Regions from separate parts of the Homo sapiens genome. Here region 2 is linked to region 1. Evidence: promoter capture Hi-C in 16 types of primary human blood cells and fetal thymus (Javierre and others, 2016). All regions are on one chromosome and are shown on one strand. The core of a region is centred on a gene start or on the middle of the fragment in contact, and the rest is flanking DNA. Distances in the headings are between cores, read along the strand shown. Region 1 holds the start of GOLGA7 (golgin A7). Region 2 holds the start of THAP1 (THAP domain containing 1).

Region 1 (6,582 bases), core at 2,228-4,727:
TTCAAGACACAGAGAAGATACAGGGAAGAAGGCCATGGGAAGATGGAGGCAGAAATTGCAGTTATGCTGTCATAAGCCAAGGAATTCCAAGGATTGCTGGTAACTGCCAGAAGCTATTTGGTTGGTACAAAAGTAATTGCTGTTTTACTTTTAATGGCAAAACTAGAATCTAGACACATGAGTGTGTTTAGGGATGAGGGAAGACGATAACAATACAGCTCATCGTCCTTTGATTCCTCTTTCACCTGGGATCGATCCTCTTCCCAAACATGAAGAGGGTTTTCCTTGGGTTATATTTGCCCTCAAATTTCCTCATTCAAAAATAATCTGTTTGCTGGGTGCAGTGGCTCACGCCTGTAATCCCAGCACTTTGGGAGGCCGAGGCGGGTGGATCACGAGGTCAGGAGTTCAAGACCAGCCTAGACAACACGGTGAAACCCCGTCTCTACGCAAAAAAATACAAAAATTAGCTGGGTGTGGTGGCACGCACCTGTAATTCCAGCTACTCGGGAGGCTGAGGCAGGAGAATGGCTTGAACCCAGGAGGCGGAGGTTGTGGTGAGCCGAGATCGTGCCACTGAACTCCAGCCTGGGCGACAGAGTGAGATCCATCTCAAAAAATAATAATAATAGTCTGTTTTACCACCTAGTCTCAGTGGCCAAGGGCTGCAGGAAAATACTCCAAATATACAATGTATGAAAATTGTTTTCTTCGTTCACTCCATTAGACTGAAATTTTGAGGGTAGAGACTGTTTTACCTGTTTAAGGGTGTTCTCAACCCCTAGTAACAAATATGTAGAAAACCAGCTCCTAGGAGATCTTACTGAGTTAGTAAGGAAGCATCAACTTCGGAGACAAACACTAGTAGACATTTAATTCAAAACAGGATCAGATCATGAAACGGAATAGAAAGTCCAAAACAGGCAGACAGAGGGACAGACAGACAGACACACACACACACACACACACCACTGATTTTCTTTTTCTTTTTTTTTTTTTTTTTTTTTTTGAGACAGAGTCTCGCTCTTTAGCCCAGGCCGGAGTGCAGTGGCACTATCTCCGCTCACTGCAAGCTCCGCCTCCCGAGTTCACCCCATTCTCCTGCCTCAGCCTCTCGAGTAGCTGGGACTTATAGGCGCCCGCCACGGCGCCCGGCTCATTTTTTGTATTTTTAGTAGACACGGGGTTTCACCGTGTTAGCCAGAATGATCTCGATCTCCTGACCTCGTGATCCGCCCGCCTCGGCCTCTCAAAGTGCTGGGATTACAGGCGTGAGCCACCGCGCCCGGCCCCCACTGATTTTCAACAGAGATACAAAGGCAATTCAGTGAAGAAATGAGAGTCTTTTCAACAAATGGTACGTAAACAACTGAATAACAACTGCATAATCATACGGGGGGAGGGAAGAGTTTCACTCTATACCTATGGGAGGCAGAAATGCCCTCCCCAAGAGGTCCACACCCTAATCCCCTCAAACCCCTAACGTGTTAAGAGAGTAAAAAGACAAATCACAGACTGTGAAAAATGCATGCAAATCACATATCTGATAAAGGATTTTTCTCCAGAATGTATAAAGAACTCAAAACTCAAAAACAGCCCGGCCAAGTTCTCACGCAAGTATAAAGGCCTCAGGAAAACATCTTTAAACATACAAAAATCCAAGAATTAAAGTGCCTTAAAAATTTAAAACTGACCTTAAGCCCAGCCAATAAAGATGTAAATCAAAACAAAATAAAACAAAAAACCCCTCAACAACAGGAAAATAAAATACAAACAAAAAAATGGGCAAAAGTTTTAAATAGACACTTCACCAGAGAAGATACATGGATGGCAAATAAGTACAGGAAAATATGTTCAAAATAATTAGTCATGGAAAAATGAAAATTATAGCTGCAGAAGATATTACTACCCAAGTCTTGGCAAAGATGTGGAGCAACTGGAACTCTGGTGGGAATGCAAAATGGTGTCACCACTTTGGAAAACAGTTTGTCAGTCTGCCAAAAAGTTAAACGTGTTTTTACCGTACAATCTAGCCATTCTACTCCTAGGTATGTACCCAAGAGAAATGAAAGCATTAAGGTCTACACACCTATGCAAAGACTTGCAAATGAATGTCCATAGCAGCTTTATTTGTAACATCCCAAAACTGGAAGCAATCCAAATGTCCATCAACAGATGAATGGATAAACAAACTGTGGGATGGCCATACAATGGAATAGCTATCCAGCATCAAAAATAAATGAATTATTGATAACACAACAACAGATGGACTTCAAAATAGTCTATGTGAAAGAAGCCAGGCAAAAAAAGGGGGTACACACTATATGATTCAATTTATATAAAATTCAAGGAAATGAAACTAATGTTGAGTGACAGAAGGTGGATCAGTGCCTGGGAAATGGGGTCTGGGAGAGGCAGGAGGGAGAGATTACACAGGAGCTGGAGGAACCTTTTCAGGGCAATGGAGCTTTACTATCTTGATTGTGACAGTGGTTTATGGGTGTATTCATATGTCCAAAGTTATCAAATCCACTGCTTTAAATGTGTGGTTTATTGTATGCCATTTATATCTCGAAAAAGCTGTTTTTAAAATACAGTAAGAGAATTTTTCATATTTAAAAGGCAGGATATTTAAACTATATTAAATATATAAAAGACAGTGGTACTAACAGGTTGTATTAGCAGGAGACAAGGGTAAGGTGGGGTTTCTTTGGCTGCCTTGCAAAGAAATGCTGAGTCAAGTAAGGGCCAGTGGGCAACGAGGGCGGAACCACTTGTCCCCTTGGTCACCTGAGGGATGTGGATGGGAGCTGGGTGGAAATGGGGGGTGAGAGGAACGCCGCCCCCAAAGAAGAGTCGGGGCAGGGGCGCCCAACGCTGGGGCCCAGGCAGGTTCTTCGTCCTCACTTCCTGACCCTTTCTCAAGAGTCTAGGGACCAAATGGATCCATCCTTGGAGCCTGCTTTCTACTTCTGAACACAATGAGCAGTTTGTGTTTGAGGGTTTGGGGAGGGGGTGTTGTTTTTTCTTTATGTTTTGTTTTTTGTTTTGTGTATGAGTTGGGTGGCATAACCCACACGTAAGCTGCGACGTCCAATCAAGAACGAAAATGACCCCTCACAATCAGTGATCGGGAACCACCTGCCACAATCACTAGGGAAGTGACACAGCCGGGAAACTCCGCCCCTCACACCCCCGCGCGCTCGCGCCGGCCGCAGCCCCACAGCTCGCCCCGGCCGCAGCCCCACAGCTCGCCCCGCCTCTCTCCTTCCGGAAACAATCCCCGCGCGGGCGGAAGGCGGGGTCGGCCCTGGCCCCGCCCACATCATTTCCCTTCCTCGGCCCAGCCCCACAGCGCGCAGCTTCGGCAGGGTGGCTTTACGGCCGGAGGAGAGGGTGGGTCCCAGACCTGAGGTAGGAGGCCGAGCTGAGGGGCGGGGAAGAGGCTTTTTGCGGCAGGACGTAAGTGACGGCGAAGGCGGTGCGACAGCAGCTGGAGGGCAGAGGAGGCGGGTTTGTGTTTCCCGGGCCGAACCGGGTTGTGGGGGGCGCGGGGCCTGGGCCAGGCGGCAGCTAAGGCCCGCGGTGACAGCATGGGTGAAGGGGAGCGGGGCAGAGGAGGCCTTGGGCTGTTTTCGGCGGCGGGTGGGGGCGAGGGGCTGGCGGGTCAGAGTCCCGGGTCCAGGCCGGGGCTCTGACTCGCGGTTGGTGTTCCCCCGACCCCGCAGCGCGGGGTGTCCTGTCCTCGCCATGAGGCCGCAGCAGGCGCCGGTGTCCGGAAAGGTGTTCATTCAGCGAGACTACAGCAGTGGCACACGCTGCCAGTTCCAGACCAAGTTCCCTGCGGAGCTGGAGAACCGGGTACGCAACCTGGCTCCCCACGCCTGCTCTGGCGAGGGAGAGAGACTCACCGGGGACGGGAAGGGTGTGGGCGACAACCGGGCCTTTGAGGGTCCCGCAGTTCTGGGGAGGTCCAGGCACAGAAGGGGCCTTGGCCAAACGTGTAAGAAGAGAGCCACTAAGCAAGACAGGTGTTTGGAGCAGGAAGAATAATATAGGCCGATCGCCGGGGTTGACGACCTTATGGAACTTTGTTGCCCGGTGCCGGGAATCTGGATCCAGCAGTGTTCCCCTGCTGCACTCCCCCAAATCCCCACCCCGGGTTATTGTCGGCAGCGATGAGGAGCCAATTCCTGAGGCTCCAGGTCGTCTCAGTCACCAGGTTGTAAACTATATCCTCCTACCTCTCCGCGCAAGATAAATCATCATCATTCTCGTGACTGGTGTTTGCTGCCTCTGTGCTGGCCGCACTGTTTGGCTGAAAGGGTTTATTAGGTGCATGGCCAGGCGGTGCGTTCAGGCTTTCTTGGAACCTTAAAGACGTCGGGCGTTAGATAGGCCTGGACAGGAAAATGTCTCAGAACAAGGCCTTAAACTTGTCACATTCACTGGGAGCCACCTGTTTTGTCTTGCATATCAAAATGGTCATCAGGATATAGGTCCTTTGGGCAACATTGCAGGCAAAAATGGAAGAATGGGATTTGCTTCCCCTTCAGACCTAGCAAAACTTTAAAAAAAAAAAAAAAATCATTGTATCTTGTTGTAGAGGTAATGGAGTGTGTGCGTGCCTGCCTGTGTTTTTGTGTGCCCACATATGTACATTCAACCAAAGATTCTTTTGGTCTTGACCCATGTTATGTAGATTGTGTTTCCCGTTCAGGGATCAATTTCTGGTTAGCTGGAAGCAGGTTTTGTGGCTCTCTCCTCTGTGACAGGGAGGACGAGGGCCTGAGAGGTGATTAGGCATTCCTTGGGTGTGGGACTGAGAGATGCTGGTCATGGGATAAGTGGGTGTGGATGAGTCTGTGTAGAGAAATGTGTAGCAGTTATTTACAGTCAGTTTGCAGTGAGGTGGGTTGCACTGCCCGATTTCCATGGTTGGGAAATCAACAATGATCCATTATAGTTTCCTTCAGTTTGACATAACCATGGGCAGCTTCATGGCCCAAATATGTTTCTTGAATTGCAAATGGATCAAATATGCCTTTAAAAGATGGTGAGGTGACTTGTTTCTGAAATGCCATTTAAATGCTGCAGTATGTTGTCAACTATGTTATGAGTTAACTGAGCGTGACAATAGGTGGAACTATCTACAGTGGTTTGAAGAGGTAGAAATTCAGCAAGTGGCCAGTTGGGTAGAGCTACTGAATGTTGTTTTAAAATAATTTAACATCACAATTGATGTGTTTTACATGTTAAGATTGACATGGAATCTGGCTGGGCCCGGTGGCTCACGCCTGTAATCCCAGCACTCTGGGAGGCCGTGGCGGGTGCATCACTTGAGGTCGGGAATTCAAGACCAGCTTGGCCAACATGGTGAAACCCCATCTCTACTAAAAATACAAAAATTAGTCAGGCATGGTGGCGGGCACCTGTAATCCCCGCTACTCAGGAGGCTGAAGTAGAAGAATTTCTTGAACCTGGGAGGCGGAGGTTGCAGTGAGCCGAGATCATGCCATTGTACTCCAGCCTGGGCGACAGAGCAAGACTCTTGTCTCAAAAAATAAATCAAATAAAAAGATATACATGGAATCAATCAAATGTTTTATTTTTAAGCCTCTTACGGAAACTATGACATACAATTTATGTACTTCAAAATCAGAATATAAAGTATTCTTTTTTTACCACAATTATTTGGACATTAAAGATTCCTTTGCTTTAAGGTTTTAAAGCAACACTTACACCTCATATATTTGAGCTAAATGTGTATACACAGAATCAGACATTAGCCTTCCACTCTGTGTGTGGCAGAGCCTTTATTTTGTAATCTAAGTGCAAAAGCACAATGTAGTTACTGTGCTCCACTGATTCTTGTCAGGAAATTGATGTTTCTAAATTCTGGAGTCCTTTTACCTCTTTGACTCTGTATAGCCCAGAACTGCTTGTGGTACTGAGTACTATATGGAATGTTACATGGCACTCTTCAATTGTGCCTTTGAATTTCTTTTTTCTTTTTAAATGTTTGGGTTAAAACACTAGCTTATGCTTTAAACCACTAGAAAAGCTTTGATTGTCTGTGTATGTGTGTTGAGATTAAATTTAAATTACAGGTTTAAACTTTCCTTGCTTTGATGAAAAATTGAAAGGTTTCTGTTTCTCTACTACTTACCCTAGAAATTTTACTGATTGCTCTGCTATTGGAGCTGATTTTCCTTTTGTGAGAACATCACACTTGGCAACATAATAGAGAAAGTGACTAATATGCAAGTGTTTTGTATTATTTTAAAGCATTTTTTAAAAATACACACACATTTGTGCCCTTTAATTTGGGAGTAGGATAGGTTCTGTCTGTTAACAAGTTCATTTTCTCTGCTGCCTTTTAGAATGTAATACTTTGATGCTTAAGCGATTTGTTGCCAGAACAATTCCTTAAAGGAAACTTTATTCTCATTAGCCTTAAAATACAGATATCTTAGTTACCCTTGGTCTGGGTAGAAGAATGAGTGAACTGTAATTGAGGCATTTTTTCCCTTTAAAAATATGTCTCCCCATCTGGTTAGTAATTACCTTTGACCTGCCACC
Region 2 (6,289 bases), core at 3,292-5,791, 1.4 Mb after region 1:
AAACAGTTTCAGTTTGAATAAACTTTTCTACCTGAAGTAGAGGGACGGTGCAGGAAAGAGACAAAATGAATCATCAGATCTAATTAAATATTAAGCACTGAGGAGAAAAAAATGCTTTGAAACTAAACTGTCACTGATAAAGAAAACCCAAAACTTATCAATATATAACTGGCAGTACAGAGTGGTTTTTAACTAAGTTACAAAGCTGGACTAAGTTTCTTAGTGTGAGGATATTTATCTTTAATAAACTGCATTTTGTGTTTTCAGAAGTGTATCACTGTTAACTACAAGGTTCCAGGCACATTTATTCTCTTAACACTAACTCAATTTTCCACATTTTAATCAATGAACACATCAGTTTGATAAACAAAAAGCAACCCAATATTTTAAAATGCATATTACCTTGTCATGTGGCTCAGTACAAAGAAATATTGTGGGCACAGCATTCTCTTTCAGTAACTTGTTGTTGCACTCTCTCTTAAAGCAGTCTGGAGTAAAGTGCTCTGAACAAATACTGCTATACTTGGTGGGTTTAAAGTTTTTTCTTCTGACAGCTGCCTCCCATTCTTTACAAAGACTGGGTCGAGTAAGAGGAAACCTAAGAAGAAGGCATAATTCAATTATCTGTCCTGATTTTTTAAATAAATAAAGGCACCCAAACTTTCCAGCTTAGGAAATATCTTACATTGGTATTAAAGATGTTACAATTGTATTATCCTATTGGATTAAAGATTAGCTCTAGTTATCTATTTATCTCATTTATTAATTTTTTAAAAATTTTTTTGAGATGCCGTCTTGCTCTGTTGTTAGGCTGGAGTGCAGTGGTGCAATCTCGGCTCACTGCGTCTCCGCCTCCCAGGTTCAAGCGATTCTCCTGCCTCAGCCTCCCAAGTAGCTGGGACTCAGGCGTGCGCCACCACGCCCAGCTAAGTTTTGTACTTTTAGTAGAGATGGGCTTTCACCATGTTGGCCAGGATGGATTCGATTTCTTGACCTTGTGATCTGCCCGCCTTGGCCTCCCAAAGTGCTCGAATTACATGCGTGAGCCACTGTGCCTGGCCCTCATTCATTAACGTTTAACTTTTTATACTGAGTTCACCAAAAGATTCAGGTAAAATACATACTATAGAGTAAATGTGCCCACGGCTCATGCCTGTAATCCCAGCACTTGGGAGGCCACTGTCCGAGGGACTACTTAAGTCCAAGAGTTCGAGACTAGCCTGGGCAACACGGCAAAACCCTGTCTCTACAAAAGACACAAAAATTAGCTGGGCATGGTGGTATGTGCCCAGGTACTCAGGAGGCTGAGACTGAGGTGGAAGGACTGCTCGAGCCTGGGAGGTCAAGGCTGCGGTGAGCTGAGATCATTCCACTGCACTCCAGCCTGGGTGACAGAGCCATACCGTCTCAAAAAGAAAAAAATAACCTGTATTCATATTTTTTACCAGTAATTTTCTGTGTGCTGCACAGAGAGACAAAGATTGCACATTTGTATCTGCGTACTGGGAAAAAGGGGCTTCTAGTTCTCTTAGCATCAGTCTGACAAATATGAATAGGCTAAATTTGAATTAAAGGCAGATAATAACGAAAGAATTTATTTTCTAATCAACTGGGATGTCCATTAGGCCCAGGTAAACGGGGATAGTGAGAGTTTACATTTATTGTGGTAATTTTACTCTTCCAAGTTAAGAATTTGGTAAACTGGGGGGATTAGAAAGAAAAAGGGAAGGGAATTTCAAATTTATGTTTCACAGTCTCTCTTCCATGTACGATATGCTAGAGCCTGACTCTGCTAGTAAGAGATCTTTATGACAGTCCCTTTTCTTTGTACGACATAGCACTCTCCGCTGCCACTATGTAGAGGGTGGGAGAAGTGGTACTCCTAGAAAATCTCAGCTGGGGCTGGGCATGGCCTGTAATCAGGCCTGTAATCCCAGCACTTTGGGAGGCTGAGGAGGGCGGATCAGGAGGTCGAAGTATGGAGACCATCCTGGCCAACATGGTGAAACCCTGTCTCTACTAAAAATACAAAAATTAGCTGGGCGTGGTGGTGCACACCTGTAGTCCCAGCTACTTGGGAGGCTGAGGCAGGAGAATCACTTGAACTCGGGAGGCAGAGGTTGCACTGAGCTGAGATCGTGCCACTGCACTCTAGCCTGGTGACAGAGCAAGACTCCATCTCAAAAAAAAAAAAAAAAAAAAAAGAAAGAAAATCTCAACTGGAACGGCCTCTATAAGTATAAACTAGGGTAGCATTTGCTGGTAAAATTCAGTACCTATGGCCTCCTGGCTCTGTAAGTATAAACTATGGTAGCATTTGCTGGTAAAATTCAGTACCTAGGGCCTCCTGGCTCAAGGACAACAAATTTACAGCTGTTTGTGAGATTCTCTTAAGATCTTTCCCATCTACTCTCCCTAAACCTGCTATTTTAGATAAGGGATAAGATGCAGGTTAGCCCTTCTTTTGATTCAATCCATATCTGCTTAACATCTAGCAGAAACAGTTGTATCTTTTTTTTTTTTTTTTTTTTTTTTTGAGATGGAGTCTCACTCTGTTACCCAAGCTGGAGTGCAGGGCAAGATCTCAGCTCACTGCAACCTCCATATCCCAGGTTCAAGTGATTCCCCTACCTCAGCCTCCCAAGTAGCTAAGATTACAGGCGTACGCCTGTATTTTGTATTTTTAGTAGAGACGGGATTTTGCCATGTTGGCCAGGCTGGTCTCGAACTCCTGACGTCAGGTGATCCGCCCACCTTGGCCTCCCCAAGTGCTGGGAATTACAGGCATGAGCCATCGTGCCTCGACAAAAACAGTTATTTCCGACGTGTGAATACCCTCTTTAAACTAGTTTCCAGTGCCAATGAAACATTTTCCATAATTTTAGATTCCTTCTGCCAAGCCATCAGAAATGTGGGTGGGGAGCTGGGCATGTAATCCTGTTACCATCACCTGACCTTTCCCTACATTTAGAAAGAACATGTTTACAGAAATTCCAATTAAATCAAGAGATAATATTAGGATATCCTGAACTGAATCCTCTAAGTGTTCTATCCCCTTCTCCAAGGGGTAACATTATTACTCTGGAGACCTCTCTATGTTCTACACACTCTTATTTCTATAGGGTCCATCTCACATGATATCAAACATATTTAAAAAATGCATGGACACTCCCCTAGTAAACACAGATGGCCCCACAGCAAAAAAATAAATTAACTGAAAAGATATTTAACATTTTGCTTTTGTAATTATTTACCTAATTATAAAAGATAATTAGCTAATTACCTATGGCTAATCTGTATAGTTTACCCCTGGATCTGATTTCTTACCTATCATCTGCGTATAGCTGTCAGGAATTCTTGCAAAGAAAACTTAACATAAATGTAATTAAAATTTGTAAACAAATTCAGCTGAATGAAAATGTTATGTCACATTTTACAAGCGTTTATCATAAGTAATTACAACTCTGCACTTTTTTCCTATTTTCAAGAGAATATTTTTGATCCTATCACTTAACTGTGCTACCTACTGGATAAGACAGCTCTGAAAGCTGTGGGGCAGTTTCTTTCGAAAGAGCTTTCTCTATGCACAGGTAATGCCATAATAAATAAAGATCCGTGTGAGTCATTTTATTATGATCCATGTTGTAACTGTCCATATTATCATTATTGTGTGCTGAAAAGATAACGATTTATCTCGGCAGTACCTGAAGCTTTCTCCAAAATACAGGGTCCTTAAAGCTTAGTTCCTAGAGATTGGGGGCAAAAATTCTCCCTGATTTCCCAGCCAAAAAACCCTTAATTGCTACGATGCTGGCCTCCCATCCACGGCAAGGGCGAAAAGTAGTGATTTCTTCGTTTAAAGGCCTTTGTTTCTATTTTAAATTTACCCCTAAGACCATATTAAAACACCTGGCTGCTCTGTGACCCTGGTGGTGGCAAAACCCGCGCCACCCTAGGCATCGCCCGTGGGCTCCGAACGCGTCAACCCAGGCCGTGAGCGAAGCCTGCAACCAGGGCCTGTTCCAGGAGCGCGAGAAACGGCTGCCGCGGCGACGCGCGCCGAGAACGCGCGATCGGGCGGCGGTTCCCAGCGGGACGCGGTGGGAAACGCCCGACACGGCCGGCCCCAGACCCCACCCGCCCCTCGCGCGGACACGCGCCTGGCTCCGCCCCCGGCCCCGCCGGCCGCGCGCCCCCACCCCGGCTGAGACCGGCCCCGCGAGGCGCGCAGGGTCCTCACTTGTGGAAAGAAACGGGCTTGTCCTTGTCGTAGCGGTTCTTGCAGCCGTAGGCGGAGCAGGACTGCACCATCCTTCCGGTCCTCAGGCACTTCACTTCTGCCGCCGCAGAAGGCAGGGGAAGCTGTTCTCAGTGTCGCTGCGCTCGGTTGGATTCCCTCGCTTCTTTTGTAGCTTTGGCCAACAGTTACAGTGATGGTGGCCTCCCTCGGGGGTGACTAGTGTGCCCGTTTTGTTGTTTGCATTAGCAGAAGGACCACAGCCATCGCCCGTCTCCCATCTCCAAGATGGCGGAGGCAGCTTCAACCTCACCTCTCGCGAGGGGTGCGTCCCACTGTCTCTGATTAGCCCCGAGGTCAGAGGTAACGTTTCCTGGGAAGCTAACTATTGGCTGAGGCCAGGTGTTTCCGGCGGTGGCTTCAGAGTTGCCGAAGTGGGCGGAGCCCTGAGCTTCCGGCAGGCAGGAAGGAACTGCTTGTGGGGGGAGGAGGCGCGGCGGGAGGCCGGATTCCTGGGGCATCCTCCAGCCCCGGGCTGTTCCCGTGGGTTAATTGATGCGGACCTTTTCTGGGGCAGCTTACAGTAGGGAACAACTAGGGCCTCTTGGAGAACAGGTGTAAAGCCGAGGTCGTTGGCTGATTGCGCCCATTTCTTTAAAAGGGCGGACACAGATGGTGTATGATTAATAAAATTGTGGAACCTTTTCCCAGAGTGCTAATCTTTATCCCATTACCTGTGTCTTCAGGTATCACAAGTTTCTGTGAGAGCCAACGTGACAGATTTTTAGCAATGAAAAAAGACACACTCGCCAAATCATCTCAATTGCCAACGCAGAAGCGTTTTATATATATGTATGTATATGTATGTATATATGTGTGTATGTATATATGTGTGTGTGTATGTATATATATATATATATATGTAATTTTTTAAATAAATAGAGGCGTTGTCTCCCCACGTTGCCCAGGTCAGTCTGGAACTCGAGCTCAAGGGATCCTCCCATCTCGACCTCCCCATGGGTTGGGATTACAGGAGTTGAGCCACCAGGCTGTCCCTCCCCAGAAGCTTTTCTGAAGGCTCTCCATTGCTGTGATTTCCATGTGCTGTGTTGCAAATAGCGAACTGCTGCAGCAATTTTCACACCTGAGAGAGAATATGTTAGAGGGGTTCGAACTAGAGCGACTCTGTGTTGAGTGAGGGCTAGGAAAATGAGGCTGGGACTTGCTGGGCTGCATTCCCGGGAAGTTAGGTATTCCTAGCCTCTAGATGTGTATACCATTAAGGCAACAGATTGATAATGTTTACTACACAGACCCAGACTACCAAGTGTCCAGATATCCCGATATTTTGAGAACAGAAGCATTCCTAATTTTGCTTTAAAGATAATAATATTGGGCTGGGCACAGTGCCTCACGCCTGTAATCCCAGCACTTTGGAAGGCCGAGGCGGGCGGATCACTTGAGGTCAGGAGTTCAAGACTAGCCTGGTCAACATGGTGAAAACGTCTCTACTAAAAATACAAAAATTAACCGGGTGTGGTGGCACATGCCCTCGAATTTCAGCTACTCTGGAGGCTGAGGCAGGATAATCGCTTGAATCCGGGAGGCGGGGGTTGCAGTGAGCCGTGCTTGCACCACTGCACTCCAGCCTGGGCGACAGAGTAAGACTCTGTCTCATAAATAAAGATAATATCGATTCTTACATAATATAGTAATTAATCCTTTATCACAAACCCTTGTAGCAAAGCACATCTCCCCATGATCTTTTTTTATCCTATATATAAACTAAGTGTTGTACTTAGGGTGGACGCGTTCCTCCTCTTACTTTCGGGAATGCCCTACTCTGTCTGTGGAGTAGCTGTACTTTCACCACTTTACGTTCTTAATAAACTTGCTTTTGCTTTGTACTGTGGACTTGCCCTGAATTCTGTCTTGCGTGAGATCCAAGAACCCTGTCTTGGGGTCTGGATTGGGACCCCTTTCCTGTAACAGTTTTACTTCATTCCCTGCTCCTTTTCTTTATATAGATCTGAGCCAGGCAGACCTGGAGAG

Evidence for each region. Contacts are between HindIII fragments. The CHiCAGO score rates a contact against its expected background, and 5 or more counts as called.
Region 2: the fragment with the promoter of THAP1 here is called in contact with the fragment with the promoter of GOLGA7 in region 1 in 5 of 17 cell types (fetal thymus, naive CD4 T cells, naive CD8 T cells and 2 more); the score reaches 6.3 in fetal thymus.

The regions. Positions count from the first base shown.
Region 1 is chr8:41,487,105-41,493,686 of GRCh38, forward strand. It overlaps GOLGA7 (golgin A7), which reads left to right and starts at 3,478. Exons shown (of 5, transcript NM_001002296.2): 1 at 3,478-3,861. The coding sequence starts at 3,751. RefSeq lists a silencer at 3,109-3,368 and enhancers at 3,419-3,548, 3,839-3,948, 3,999-4,108. The HindIII fragment of the contact is 7,658 bases long and covers 1-6,062 here.
Region 2 is chr8:42,838,784-42,845,072 of GRCh38, forward strand. THAP1 (THAP domain containing 1) reads right to left here and starts at 4,542. Exons shown (of 3, transcript NM_018105.3): 1 at 4,241-4,542; 2 at 403-598. The coding sequence starts at 4,311. LOC124901940 (a long non-coding RNA gene) reads left to right here and starts at 4,151. Exons shown (of 2, transcript XR_007060901.1): 1 at 4,151-4,600; 2 at 4,984-6,289. RefSeq lists enhancers at 4,135-4,925, 4,261-4,620 and a silencer at 4,141-4,230. The HindIII fragment of the contact is 1,565 bases long and covers 3,737-5,301 here.